Linked DNA regions of Homo sapiens: regions 1, 2, 3 and 4 are each linked to region 5. The links are contacts of gene promoters, found by promoter capture Hi-C in human tissues and cell types (Jung and others, 2019). All regions are on one chromosome and are shown on one strand. Each heading gives the region's core, a stretch centred on a gene start or on the middle of the fragment in contact. The rest is flanking DNA. Distances are from core to core; before and after follow the strand shown. Region 1 overlaps MORC2 (MORC family CW-type zinc finger 2). Region 2 holds the start of LIMK2 (LIM domain kinase 2). Region 3 overlaps THOC5 (THO complex subunit 5). Region 4 overlaps NF2 (NF2, moesin-ezrin-radixin like (MERLIN) tumor suppressor). Region 5 holds the start of TBC1D10A (TBC1 domain family member 10A).

Region 1 (2,700 bases), core at 188-2,687, 630 kb before region 5:
ATCGCTTAAACCCAGGAGGTGGAAGTTGCCATGAGCCAAGATCGCACCATTGCACTCCAGCCTGGGCAACAAGAGCGAAGCTCCGTCTCAAAAAAAAAAAAAAAAAAAAAAATGCTCAGGCCAGATGGAGGTGCCTTTCCAAGCCAAAGCATGTATCTTACATCTGAGTGTGCTTTCTCAGGAATGGTAACAGCTACCGCTGGAAAAATAGGGCTTATTTAATCAATGCACAGATGCTAAAGCAGAGAATGGGCCTCTTCTCCAAGTGATGTTGAAGGTACAAATCGTAATGGTCAAGTCTACTTGGAAGACGTTTTTTAAAAAAGATCATCTCTGCTGTCTCCTACTACATTTGGTGGGTAAATTTCAGCAAGGAAGTTTAGTTCCTGACACTCAGAATGAAGTTGGATTTCAATTTAAATGAAAAAGGACCCAGTGTGTCTTTATTCTGTGCTCAGTACAACTCCTGTTATGCTTTGGGAAATGTCCAGAGAGGAGGAGATGGGGGTCTTTGCTTTAAGAACTTAGTCTTTAATTGGAGAGACAATTAATGCACTATGGATAATTAGAGAACAATAACTAGATCTTGAGGGAACAGTCAAGACAGTTAAGGATTAAATGGTGTGATAGAAGCACTAAGCACCATAGCATTTTGGAAAAAGACTTGATTTACTTCAAGTACCAGGAGATTGGGATTCTTGGCTAAGGGATCTTTAACCCTACACTTTTCTACCACAGGGCCTTGTTAACACATTCAACAGGAGAAATCAGTCCGTGGAATCTTTTTTTTTCACCCAGGCTGGAATGCAGTGTGCTATCTAGGCTCACTGCAACCTCCACCTCTCGGGCTCAAGTGATCCTCCTACCTCAGCCTCCCGAGCAGCTGAGACTACAGGCACACACCACCATACCTGGTTAATTTTTGTATATATATTTTTTCACCATGTTGCCCAGGCTGGTCTCAAACTCCTGAGCTCAAGTAATCTGACTGCCTTGGCCCCCCAAAGTGCTGGGCTTACAGGCTGAGCCGATGCGCTTGGCCAGTAATAATCTTAATACTATAAAGTTCTTGTTGTTAGTTCATGGGGGAAAGTATTTTCTTATCTCCACTTCTGAAACTGATTGATAACTGGACTTGGAAATCTTTCCAAACATCAGATGTAGTTTGAAGTCACCACAAAGTCACATTTAAAGACCATTTTTAAACCTAAAAAGGGCAAAAAAGGAGCCAGCCTCTCAAAGTGTAGAGGTGTTCATTTACCCAAAGCATATTATTATTAGTTGGATTATTATTATAGACCATAATATGCCTGTCATAAGCAGACTGTTTTTGTTGACTTTCTTGACCTTCTGGGGTAGGTAGTGCCACCTCCTTGGAAGAAAGATCCTTTTCGTGATGCCAGGGCAATGATTAACACATGGAAAATTGGAGCAAATGAAACTGCAATTAATACTGCTCAAACAGATTGCAGAGTATGATGAAGAACTTGGATGTCATTTTATTGCAGCCTCTCCTGGGGACACCATTATTTTATCACCTTTGACTTTTGGATGTATAGCTCCATTTGACATCTCTTGTCTTTTCCTGCTTTCTTTCTTTATTCTTCCCAGTGGGAGTTAGATGAAGAATGTCTGGCTTGCAGAAGCCAGACTTGGCCATTCTGGGAGATGTGCAGACTTTCAGATTGGCTTTGACAGTCTTACAGAGCTGTTCCCAGGATATGAAGCACAGCTGCAAAGCAGGCAGTTCGGCTTTGCCTTCTCTTACTTTCAAGATGTGTGATGGGAGGCGGGGAACATACAACCCCCAGCTGCTTAGACTCTTCTTTATCCAGAATTCCCCTTCCTTTATCTTTGGAGGCTTCAGATATCACTCAGTTGACTGATTAAATATCAGGTGATAGGAATCTATCTCTATGGTGGAATATATGAGGAGATAGTTTTGAGCAGGGACGCCTTCGAGTTCTTGCTTGCTCTAGTTTAGTGCTTCTCAAAAGGTGGTCCATCCACAGATGTTGTCAATATCATCTTGGAACTTGTTAGAAATGCGAATGCCCCACCTCAGACGTACCCAGACTATCCAGGGGGAGCCCAGAATCTATTTTCACAAGCTCTTTGGATAATTCTTACCCATACTACATTTTGCTCTAGCCAATACTTTTCTAAGCTTCCTTCAGCTTAAACCCTCCTGTCCTTTACTTCCTAGCTTATCTGCTGCAGGCAGTAGAATCCATTAGATGTAAGCTCCATGAAGACAGTGATCGCATATGTACTGTTCACTGCTCTTGTCCTCATCATAACCAGGCACAGAAGAGCTGATCACTAAGTAGTCATTAAATAAACAAGTGATTGGCATAAGCATTTGAACAAGGTGAAGAGACCACACTGTCTGTTTACAAAGTTGAAGAAGTCAATGCTGTCTTAGTCTTTCTTGGCCCTGAGGCAGTATTGCATGTGGCCATGGACCTAGACACTACTAGCCATTTATAGGCTGTCAGTTACTATGTAGCCAGGAGGATCCCCCCAGTGTCATCTCTTACCCTTTAAACTACACGAAAAAGCTTTGAAATGAAGTCCTTGAGCCAGAAAAGGATACCAGCCCCACTGTTAAGTGATGATTGTGTGCTAAAGCAGCCTAAGAGTTCTATCCTAACACAAGAGCCTAGAAAGTAACTTCTTAGGCAGTGTCCAAAGAATGCC
Region 2 (2,700 bases), core at 194-2,693, 890 kb before region 5:
AAGAGATGAAGTCTCGCTATATTGCCCAAGCTGGTCTCAAACTCCTGGACTCAAGCGATCCTCCTGCCCTGCCCTCCCAAAGTGCTGGGATTACAGGCATGAGCCACCACGCCCAGCCTAAAAAAATTTGTTTTAGGCATTTCCACCCCTAGCTCTCTCCAGAAGTCTGTTATCACCAGTGAAGAGAAAATCCCATGCTCCCTTGCTGAGGAAGTGACCCACTGGTAGCCCAGTCCTTGCATTCAAGATGAAGGAAGTGACTGTCCACAGACGGAAAGCCAGGAAGCAGGGGGCAGATAGCCAGCCCCCCTCCACCTCAATACCCTCTTGCCGCCTCTCCAAAGCTTCTGGACGCTGACCCTGGTGGACCCAGAGGTGGGCCACCCACACAGGTGGCTGGGAAACATAGGAGACAGAAGGTTCCTACTGCTGGGGGAAAAGATGGGGAAGGCAGGAAGCTGCAGGGTGGTGTGTGAGGTGGCGGGGAGGTGACTGCAGGTGCAACTAACCCAACTCTGAAGCTACCCTTCACCCTTAGACAACTCTTCCTTCCAGGAGGTGTTTGGCCGAATCCCTCTAGTCTTTAGTCTAGAGAGGCCAAGGGAGCTTCCACAGGAGGACTCAGAACCCCAGGTGGCCTACTTTCGCCACCTGTAGCAGAGATCTTTGGGCCCCAAAAAGAATGGTCCGATCTCTCCTTACCCTTAGTCCTGTCCTAAACCTCAAGGGGCTCCATACTCCCTTATTTTCTGCAAAGAGCTCCCAGCCCCGGGGGACTCCCAGACACCAAGATGCCCGCGAGAAGCCTTGGGTCTTGGCAGGGAAGTCACATCCTCCATTTCCCTCAGAAAACCCAGAACCCGGGGTAACTCTCCTAATTGTCCTGAACCCTAGAGGATCCTGTACTCCTCAAATTCCACAGAGCTTCCACTATAAGAGAACCCCATGCTTTTCAACTTCCTTAAAAAGGGTTAATTTGGGGGTCTGCGGCCGCCAGGTCCCTCCAAAAAGCTGGATTCCTGGCAGACCCAGAATCTCTTCCTCCCCGGGACCTCAACTCGCGGGAAGCCTCCCAACCCGCCTGCCCCTCGGAGCCCTCTGTCTCCAGGATGCCCTGCCTCCCCATTCCCGGAGTCCCACCCTCCAAATGCCTGGGGAGCGCTGTGCCCACCCCGCCTCCCAGCTTTTCTGAGGAGCTCGGACCCACGAGGACCCAACCAGCCCGAAACCCCCGAGAGACAGCCGGTTTCCCTCAGGCGCCATGGAACCGGACTTCGGAGATAACAGCGGGACAGGGCGGAGCAGCCCTTCCTTACCCGCCAGCGCGGACATGGTCCCGGGAGCGCGGAAATGGGGAGGAGGAGGCGGGGGACACAGCAGCTCCCCTCAGTTCCCTACAACTCCCCTCAGCTCCTGCCGCCGCCGCCTCAGGCGCGGGAAGACCACAGCCCCAGGCGCGAACGGGATGCACCGCCTACGGCGCCCTGGGAGGACCAAACCACACCTGGCACAGGGGACTGCCCGCCGACGCCCCGCCCCGCCGCTCTCAGGCCTCGCTCCCGAGACGCGGCCCCGCCCCCTGGCTCTGGCTCGGGCTCTGCAGCGGCCCTGGCGCCCCCTAGTGCGAGCGGCGTCCCCTCGAGGTGCTCCCGCCGGTAAGGTTGATTCTGCGGGGGCCGGAAGTCTCAACACGGATGACAGTCCGCACCCATCTAGTCGCCCTCATTTACAGATAGGGAAAGTTAAGGATCAGAGGCTAAGTTCGACTACATTGAAATGGCTTCGCTCATTAGGAGGAGAGCCGGGATGGGAGCCCAGGCCTGCTAACTGCCAGTTCAGAGCTCTTTCCAGTAGTGTTTGGAATCAGGAATATTACAATGGAGGAGCCAGGTCTATCCCACAAACAGCTTTGAGGATGGACTTTTCTTAGAAGCTTCTAGCTCAGAGAAACCACTTCTCTGCGCCACTATGAGTAAGCTGACAGTAAATAATCTCTAAGTCAAAGACAGTTGGAGGCGACCAACCAGCATTCCAGGAGCAGATCCTCAGCCAGGCCAATTAGGTTTAGCGCAGGACGCTGGAGCTTGTGCGCCGCATTGGAAGACGAGCACTCCCCTGCAGGAACATGGGCCTACCATTCCCAGGTCTTCCAACCTTTCAAAACATGCCAAAAATCCAGATATTTAGGTGAAATTTGCCACTTTTAAAAAATGTTGATAGCATCAAAAAGTTCTTAAAATGCCATGTAGACCAAATGAAACACACCTGGCCACTAGATTTGCCCTGTGGGCTGCCAGTTTACAATCTTCTATGAGGAGGAGGGATTACAGGACTAAGAGTTAGGACAGCTGACTGGGTTATGGCAGCTGCTAGCTGGCTGAGTAGCTTTGAGAACCACTTCCGCTCATTAGGTTTGGAAGGAGATTGGGGTCCTCTGTGTGATTAAGATATTAATACATCATCAGCCAGGCCAGCTGGTCCCTGATGACCCACCCTCCCATCAGATTCTCTCACGCTGGGTCTTTCACAATTGTCATTTCCTTACATCAGATTTAGATCACAGGAAACATGTCCAAATGACCAGAAAGAGGATGGAGCCCAGGGAAATGGATTCTGTCCCCTCCACCCCCACCCCTGACCAAAGACAAAGTTCAACCCAGCTGCCTCTGGTCCCAGCAGTTGGGTAAGCAAAGGCAAAGG
Region 3 (2,704 bases), core at 30-2,529, 780 kb after region 5:
GATAATTAATTTTTTCCCTACTAATTTGATCATTCATCCAATTAATATTTATTAAGTGCCAGGCATTTTGCTAGGTGTTGAGAAATGATGGTACTTATACATTTGCTTGATACAAAGATGGATGTGTACAAGTAAATTGTAGATACCAAAAATGAAATTATCATTAATAGTAAATGAATAAATGAGGTTTTAGGGGCAGAGAAATTAAACAATGTGACTAAAAACTCGATAGATAAGTTTTTTAAAATCCATTTTTTCCCCCAGGAATCTCACGTATTTGTGCTTATGCTGACAAGTTTTGTTAGAATTATTGCATTCAATCTATTCTAGCCAAGCTTTATGGCTATAATTCTGTTATTTTCCATTTAAGTTATCCTGTAATGTTATTTATAGAGGTCAAATTTTATGACAAGATGTTACTATTGCTGGGATCTCTGTGTAGGATCTGTAGAGATAGATTGTGCCTTTGCTGCCCTTATTCCATCTTCAATTCCTGTTACTCTAGTCCAAGCAGAAATTACTTTTTTTTGCCCGAGATTCTTAATCATTTTCCTTATACAATCATCCTCTTATTTTCTTCATGACCCTTCTCATGGTTCTGAGCTCCCTCCGGTGCCGTTTTTGGCCCCAGATGAGGATGGGTCAGTGGTGAAGGACTGAAGGAAGCTGAGCTAGCCCTGTCGTCAGTGGGCTTTACTGTTTTCTTTGCCCACAGGCAATAGAAATAGAAGAACGGAGGATCCAGAGCTGTGTGCATTTCATGACTCTAAAGAAGCTTAACCGATTAGCCCACATCAGGTTGAAGAAAGGAAGAGATCAGACCCACGAGGTAGTAGTTAAAAGGTTTAATTTTAACCTTCCTCCTTCCTCCTCCCCATCCCCTTCTTTTTTTTTTTTTTTTTTTTTTTTTGAGACAGAGTCTCGTTCTGTCCCCCAGGCTAGAGTGCAGTGGCACGATCTCAGCTCACCACATCCTCTGCCTCCCAGCTTCAAGCGATTCTCCTGCCTCAGCCTCCTAAGTAGCTGGGATTACAGGCACCTCCCACCACCATGCCTGGCTAATTTTTGTATTTTTTAGTAGAGATGGGGTTTCACCTTGTTGGCCAGGCTTGTCTTGAACTCCTGAGCTCAGGTGATCCACTCGCCTCGGCCTCCCAAAGTGCTGGGATTACAGGCGTGAGCCACTGCACCCAGCCCCATCCCCTTCTTTATTCCCTTTACACCTTCTCTTAGTTTGCTGACCCTCTCCTCTGCTCCATCCTGACTTGCCCTGCTCACTTCTGATCGTATTTTCCTTTCAGGCTAAGCAGAAAGTAGATGCCTATCATCTGCAGCTCCAGAACCTGTTGTATGAGGTGATGCACCTACAGAAGGAGATCACCAAATGTTTGGAGTTTAAGTGAGTTTGGGAGGACAGGGCTTTGGCACATGTGGTCTTTCGGTAACTGCTTTTTCCCATGTAGCTCACTGTAAGTCTGTTTCTTTTTTTTTTTTGAGACGGAGTCTTGCCCTGTCACCCAGGCTGGAGTGCAGTGGCGCAATCTCAGCTCACTGCAACCTCCACCTCCCGGGTTCAAGCAATTCTCCTGCCTCAGCCTTCTGAGTAGCTGGGATTGCAGGCGCCCACCTCCACATCCAGCTAATTTTTGTATTTTTAGTAGAGACGGGGTTTTGCCATGTTGGCCAGGCTGTTCTCGAACTCCTGACCTCAGGTGGTCCTCCCGCCTCGGCCTCCCAAAGTGCTGGGATTACAGGCGTGAGCCACCGCTCCCAGCCTAAGTCTCTCTTTAAAAAGAAATCTGATGAGCTTAGAAAACTGTAGGATCTGGGAGAAGGGCAAATTGCAAGGGTGAATGTGGGAGAATTGCAAGCCGTGATTTCAGGCTGCATAAAGAACCTCAGAAGTCTCTCTGACCTTTTTGAGTTTTGAGCTCTGCACTTGGTAAAAAGCAGGTCTCTCTCCCTATCAGGGGTCTTTACATTACCAGTTTGATTTCTGGGCATGTTGTATGGGAGCAACTCACTTCCAGTCACATTCTTTTAACCTTTTGGCCCAGTTTTCCTTTCTGTAGTCCCAGCAGTTCATTTCTGCAAATGGATTTTATTCTTTGGAACCTGAATTTCTTGCTGCTTAGCTGCCTTCAGGTGAAGAAACTACAGTTTGTCAGTGTCCTTCCTCAAAACCAAGCTGAGAGATGAGAAGGAGGAAGGAGTAAACGGGAAGAGAAGGGGAAGTGTTCTCACTTGATCAGACCTGTTTATGCAAACTGAAAGCAGCTTTTATCTGTAACAAACTTGACATATGCAGGGGCCCTATTAGACATTGGGTCCAGGATATATATATATATATATATATATATATATTTTTTTTTTTTTTTTTTTTTTTTTTTTTTTTTGGAGATGGAGTCTTGCTCTGTCGCCCAGGCTGGAGTGCAGTGGCGTGATCTCGGCTCACTGCAAGCTCCGCCTCCCGGGTTCACGCCATTCTCCTGCCTCAGCCTCCCGAGTAGCTGGGACTACAGGCGCTTGCCACCACGCCCGGCTAATATTTCGTGTTTTTAGTAGAGACAGGGTTTCACCGTGTTAGCCAGGATGGTCTCGATCTCCTGATCTTATGATCCGCCTGCCTCAGCCTCCCAAAGTGCTGGGATTACAGGCGTGAGCCACCACACCCGGTGGGTCCGGAATATTTTTAATAATCATG
Region 4 (2,700 bases), core at 106-2,605, 650 kb after region 5:
TCGAAAATTTGACCCCACAGTTCTATTATAAGAATTTATTCTACCAATATATCCACGTGTGTGTGTCAAGATTTGTGTTCAGGGATGTTCAGTGTCATTTTGTTCAAAATTGCAAAAGAAAACAGACTAAATACTCATCCATGAGGGACTGGTTAAATAAATTACAATCCATCCACACAACAAAACATGATTAAAAAGCTGATATGGATGATCTCCTTCAGGATTGACTGCTAAGAGGAAAGAGCAGTTACAGCAGTGTATAAGCTTTGCTCCAGTGTATATTTTAAAAACAACACATATAGGCTGGGCACAGTGGCTCATGCCTATAATCCCAGCACTTTGGGAAGCTGAGGCAGGCAGATCACTTGAGCTCGGGAGTTTGAGACCAGCTGTGGCAACATGGCAAAACCCTGTCCCTACCAAATAAAAAAAAAAATTAGCTGGGCGTGGTGGTGCATGTCTGTGGTCCCAGCTACTCAGGAGACTGGGGCGGGAAGATCGCTTGAGCCTATGAGGCTAAGGTTGCAGTGAGCCGAGATTCTGCCACCGCATTCCAGCCTGGGTGACAGAGTAAATAAAACTCTCTCTCTCTAAAAAAAAAAATAATAAATAAAATAAAAAATAAAAACATAACACATCTCAGGTGTTCAGCCCAGTTGACTGCTCAGACGACTCCAGTCCCAGCTACCATCTGACTGTGACCACCAGAGAGATCCCCAGCAAGGATCTCTGTCTGGCCCAGTCAACCCAACAAGCCACCAGAGGTACTAACAAAGCCACACAGCTGGCTTGGGTGGGTTGTTACACAGTAACGGAGAACCGGGATATACGGCAACAGCAAACTGCTTACATTTTCCCCACCTCAAACCCTGGGCAGCTTGTGCCTCTGGTGCCCTTTGTGCATCTGGGTCATGTATGTGCCTGTGCCATGTGCATGAATGTAAGTATGGGTGCGTGTGTGTCCGTGCTGTGTGTGTGGATGTGCTATGTGCATCAATGTATGTATGGGTACGTGTGTGTGTCTGTGCCATGTAGATGACTGTGCTGTGTGTGAGTCTGGGCCATGTGTGCATCTGTGCCCTCACCCTGAATACCCTATGTTCTCTTCTCCACCTGGCTACTTCCTGCTCCCCCTTCAAGCATCAGTGTAGACACCACACTGAGCCTCTCCTGCTCCTCCAGGGTGGGCTGTGTCCTCCTCCTCTAGGCACCTGTGCACCCTGAGAACACCTGTCAGGATAGAGACTTCCAACTGCATGGCACTATGTGGACACTGAACAAATATGAAAAAAAAAAAAATGCCAAACTGAATGCACAGAAGAAAGGAAGGAAAGAGGCTTCTATTCATTTTGTGACCCCATTTAATGGAAGTCTGACTCTCTGTCCCCAAACTGAGAGTGGCTGCTCGTTCTTGCACGGCAGTAATTCACTCTGAGGTGTACAGCCAATCCCTTCCCAGAACTATAATTATGATATATGGTATATACTGATAGTTGAAGATTACATTCAGCTCAGCATTAAGAGGCAAGAGAGCAAATTCTCTTGAGGATAATTTGGGACTATATTACTTAGAAAAAGAAAAACATTCCAGAGCTGGAAAAGGCCCTGTTGCCTGTTATCCAGGCAACCAAAGAGACAACTAACTAGTCCAAAGCCAAATGGCAGACCAGGATGTTCTACCCAGTCCCTAACTGCAGGCTCTCTGCACCTCTCATCCAGCCATGTGTTTGCCTGAATGGTCACCCTGAAGGCACCGCCAGATGAACTGAAGGGCCGGGAGGAAAGAGAACATCACCAGGACTAAGGCAGCCCCAGCTGGTGGCCCCCAGGCTCACCGGGTACGTGGGCTTGGTGGCAATCTCCAGGAGCTTCTGCTTGGCTCTTCGCTCCGCCTCGCGTGCTTCCTGCAGGTCCTGCTTCAGCTGATCTGCCTCTTTGGCCCTGCAAGGAAAGGATGAGATGTCAGCTTCACAGAAGAGGGCAGGTAGCAGGAAAAGACACCACCCCACCCCTGCAGAGGAGGGACCTGGGCTAACCCTGAGGATGGCACCCAAAGAGGTGAAAAAGGACAGTGAGACAGGGATATTTACATGAAATCAGAACTTCCAAGCAAGGACAACATTCCTGAGGACTTTTGTTTGAGTTGGTAAATCTAAACTGGAAGAGCAGGAAAACTGGTGGGGAATGAGAGAAACCAGACCTTCTGCAGCCAGGAGACAGAGGAGCTGGAGAGGGCACCAGCAGCTTTCTCTGCTTTATTTTTGGGTGAGAGTGAGCTGGGCAAAGGAAGAACCTGGAGGATCAAAGTTCTTATATTGGATCGCAAAGGGCAGAATGTGCAAGAACTGCGTCTTCACAGCCCCCGGATAAAACACCAGTGGGCCTTGTGCCCACTTTCTCCAGCAGAAAGATGAGCCCAGTCACTGAGGGCACCCGCACCCTGGTGCAGATCCTCATCCTATGGGGCTCAGGTGGTCACGGCATGTGAGGCCTGGTGCAGGGACCTGGCCCAACCTGCATCATGCACAGGGAGTGACCCCCGAATACAGTAAGGGGCCTGAAGCAGGGCAGGCAAAAAGGAACCATATTCCCAGAACGACATGCAAAGCGTGGTGAGGAAAACTGTAGTGAATGCACCTTGGTAGCTAAAAGCCAAATTCAAGTGCTCTAAATCAACAGAGCCAAAAGCTGTGGGGAATG
Region 5 (2,700 bases), core at 65-2,564:
TAAAATGGGACTAATAATGGTGTATACCTCATTGCTAAGAGATTACAAGACATGTTGCAACCAATTTGGAAAACAGTTTGCCAGTTCCTCGAAAGGTTAAACAGTTGCCATATGACCCAGCAATTCCACTCTTCCTTATCTATCCAAGAGAAATGTAAACATAAGGCCCCCACACAAAAGCTTGTACCTGAATGGTCAGAGCAGCATTATTCATAATGGCTAAAAACTAGAAACACGCGAATGACCATCACTGATGAATGGAAAAACAAAATCTGGTATAGTCCCAGCTCCCAGGAGGGGCAGTATAGGTCTTTCATGGCGGTGTGGGCCTATCCCAGGAAAGGGAGGGGTGGAGTCAGACATACCTGGGGCAGATGTGAATCCAGAAGCACTGATACATGCTACAATGTGGATGAAACTTGAAAATGTTCAAGAGAAAGAATCCAGACATAAAAGGCCATATATTGTATAATTCCATTTATATGAAATATCCAGAAAAGGGACATCTATAGAAACAGGAAGCAGATTAGTGGTTGCCAGGGACTGGGGGAGCCAGGATGCGGAGTGACTGCTAATTGGTAGGAGTTTCTTTTTGGGGTGATGAAAATGTTCTAAAATTAGAATGTTGTGATGGCTGCACAACTCTGTAAATATGCTAAAAATCATTGTACACTTTAAACGTGAATTTATGGTATGTTTATGTTCCATAAAACTGCTGGGGAAAAGACTACAGGAGAAAGTAGGTAGAGCTTCGGGCGTGCGTGGCTCAGTAAACGCTGGTGATTATTAATAATTAGGTCTCACGAGGTAATTTAAAGCCCCAGAAGCAGTGAGTGCAATGGGACTGCCAGACTTCTGGCTCAGGCTGGGCCTTTAAGCCGCTCTGCGTCCCTGAACTCACTTGGGCCTCCTCAGAGTTCCTCATAAATGAATGGGGCAAACAATCCCTACCACGTCCTTGGGGTCTCGCAGGGAGCGGGGCTCAGGAGGCAGATGAGGAATCCATGGAGGAAGCCCTGGGCCTCCGGCTCGCGCTCTGCAGTAGGTGACAGGCCCCGCTTGGAGCCAACCCGGAAAGGCCCGAGCTCGTCCAGGTGAGTTCTTGTGATTGGCAGCCCGGAGGAGGGCGGGGAGGGCTGCGGTGACGGCTGCCCCGCCCCCTCACTTCGGGCTTGTTGGCGCCCGCCGGGGGAGGGTGGGCGGGGCCCGGGGTCCGCGGCGCCCATTGGGCGTGGGGGGAGAGCTCCGGGGTGGGCCTGGAGCCCCGCCCCCCGGCCTTGCGGCGGCCAATAGGCGCCGCGCGTGGGCGGGGCGTCGGCGGCAGCAGGGCGGCTGAGGTGGCCGCTGGAGCTCAGGCGGCGGGCGCGGCTGGGATGGCGAAGAGCAACGGAGAGAATGGGCCGCGCGCGCCCGCGGCCGGGGAAAGCCTGTCGGGAACCCGGGAGAGCCTGGCCCAGGGCCCCGACGCCGCAACCACCGACGAACTCAGCTCTCTCGGGTCTGACTCGGAGGCCAACGGCTTCGCCGAGCGCCGCATCGACAAGTTCGGCTTCATCGTGGGCTCGCAGGGCGCCGAGGGCGCGTGAGTAGCGCCGGGGGTCGGGACTGAGCGCGCCACCCACGCGAGGGGCCTCGACACGGACGGAGGCGCCCTCGGGACTTGCCGACACGTCCCCCTCCCAGGCAGGGACCACTAATCCCCGTTCCCTCCCCTGCCCCACCCCCACCACCCCTGCCTTCCTAGACCCGCCCCCTTCGCAGTCCTACTTCCGACCCAGGGGGCGGACGGGCCCACACCTCCACCCGCCACCTCCACCCTCCGGACAGACTGACCCGCTCCCAGGAAGGACCGACTGTGCCCTCCTTCCAGCCGTGGAACAGAATGACAGACTGCCCCAAACCCACCCCTGCCGCCAAGACCTTAGGGATGATTGTTTCTGCCACCCCGACAGGCTCCCAGATGGCTGGCGCCCCCCTCCATAGACACTCATTCTCCATCTTTCCCCCTCCCACAAACCCACAGACGCCCTTGTCTCCCCGCCTCACTGCCCCCACACCAGGAGACCTCAGACCGACTTCAGGACTGACTGCCCCGCCCCCACCCCTTCCCAGGACAGACTGACCCTTTCCTCGAGGCATACAGACCTCTGGATGGACAGACATTGGTCACCTCCCTCCCCTCAGCTCCATCCTGGGACAGACAGTCCCTTCTCCTCATGGAAGGGTCGGAGAAGGGCCCCCTATCCGCTCATACACAGCTTCCTCCACTGGCACTGGCAACAGGTGGGCAGGTACTCCCCCTTCCCAGCACGTACAGGGCGACAGGGAGCCCCACCACTAGGACAGACCATCAGCTCCAGCAGCCACAGGAGCCAGTAGATGGGCTCTGTGTATGTCCTGTGTATGTATGCGCCTCCTCCCAAGGGCAGATCTTGGGCGTGGGACGGGGGCAGGCAGGGAGACAGCAGGGTCCCTGCTCATATTAGCACCCCCCGATGTCCTATCCCGAGAGCACCCAGACACCCAGCTAGCAGACAGAGAAATGTGGGGCAGTGGAACAGCACCTTGCCTCCAAGCTGGGCCCCATGTTGCCCCACAGAATCCCCCGAGCCCAGGCCTCAGAGATCATGTGTACAGGCTGGCGGTCCCCTTAGGAAAGATGGACTCCATACCCCACTCCCATCCCAGCTGTCCTGTCAC

Evidence for each region. The method cuts DNA at HindIII sites, captures the fragments that hold promoters and counts their contacts. A contact is called where the count stands out against the background at its distance.
Region 1: a fragment that was not itself captured here is called in contact with the fragment with the promoter of TBC1D10A in region 5 in 2 of the 25 tissues and cell types used here (dorsolateral prefrontal cortex and hippocampus).
Region 2: the fragment with the promoter of LIMK2 here is called in contact with the fragment with the promoter of TBC1D10A in region 5 in 2 of the 25 tissues and cell types used here (dorsolateral prefrontal cortex and heart left ventricle).
Region 3: a contact is called between a fragment that was not itself captured here and the fragment with the promoter of TBC1D10A in region 5, in 1 of the 25 tissues and cell types used here (hippocampus).
Region 4: a contact is called between a fragment that was not itself captured here and the fragment with the promoter of TBC1D10A in region 5, in 1 of the 25 tissues and cell types used here (IMR-90 fibroblasts).

Annotation. Positions count from the first base shown.
Region 1 is chr22:30,952,365-30,955,064 of GRCh38, reverse strand. The region is part of intron 3 of MORC2 (MORC family CW-type zinc finger 2); the gene reads left to right. Among named protein-coding and RNA genes, the nearest start is that of MORC2, 15 kb to the left of the region's middle. The HindIII fragment of the contact is 6,988 bases long and covers 1-2,700 here.
Region 2 is chr22:31,211,041-31,213,740 of GRCh38, reverse strand. LIMK2 (LIM domain kinase 2) reads right to left here and starts at 1,443. Exons shown (of 16, transcript NM_005569.4): 1 at 1,317-1,443. The coding sequence starts at 1,332. RefSeq lists enhancers at 1-760, 1,723-1,902 and a silencer at 1,343-1,742. The HindIII fragment of the contact is 2,868 bases long and covers 153-2,700 here.
Region 3 is chr22:29,541,554-29,544,257 of GRCh38, reverse strand. It overlaps THOC5 (THO complex subunit 5), which reads left to right. Exons shown (of 20, transcript NM_003678.5): 4 at 716-829; 5 at 1,302-1,399. Among named protein-coding and RNA genes, the nearest start is that of THOC5, 11 kb to the left of the region's middle. The HindIII fragment of the contact is 4,062 bases long and covers 1-2,704 here.
Region 4 is chr22:29,674,077-29,676,776 of GRCh38, reverse strand. NF2 (NF2, moesin-ezrin-radixin like (MERLIN) tumor suppressor) reads right to left here. Exons shown (of 16, transcript NM_000268.4): 13 at 1,836-1,941. Among named protein-coding and RNA genes, the nearest start is that of CABP7-DT, 44 kb to the left of the region's middle. The HindIII fragment of the contact is 3,908 bases long and covers 1-2,700 here.
Region 5 is chr22:30,325,555-30,328,254 of GRCh38, reverse strand. TBC1D10A (TBC1 domain family member 10A) reads left to right here and starts at 1,314. Exons shown (of 9, transcript NM_031937.3): 1 at 1,314-1,582. The coding sequence starts at 1,374. RefSeq lists silencers at 1,062-1,391, 1,692-1,741 and an enhancer at 1,958-2,700. The HindIII fragment of the contact is 10,227 bases long and covers 1-2,700 here.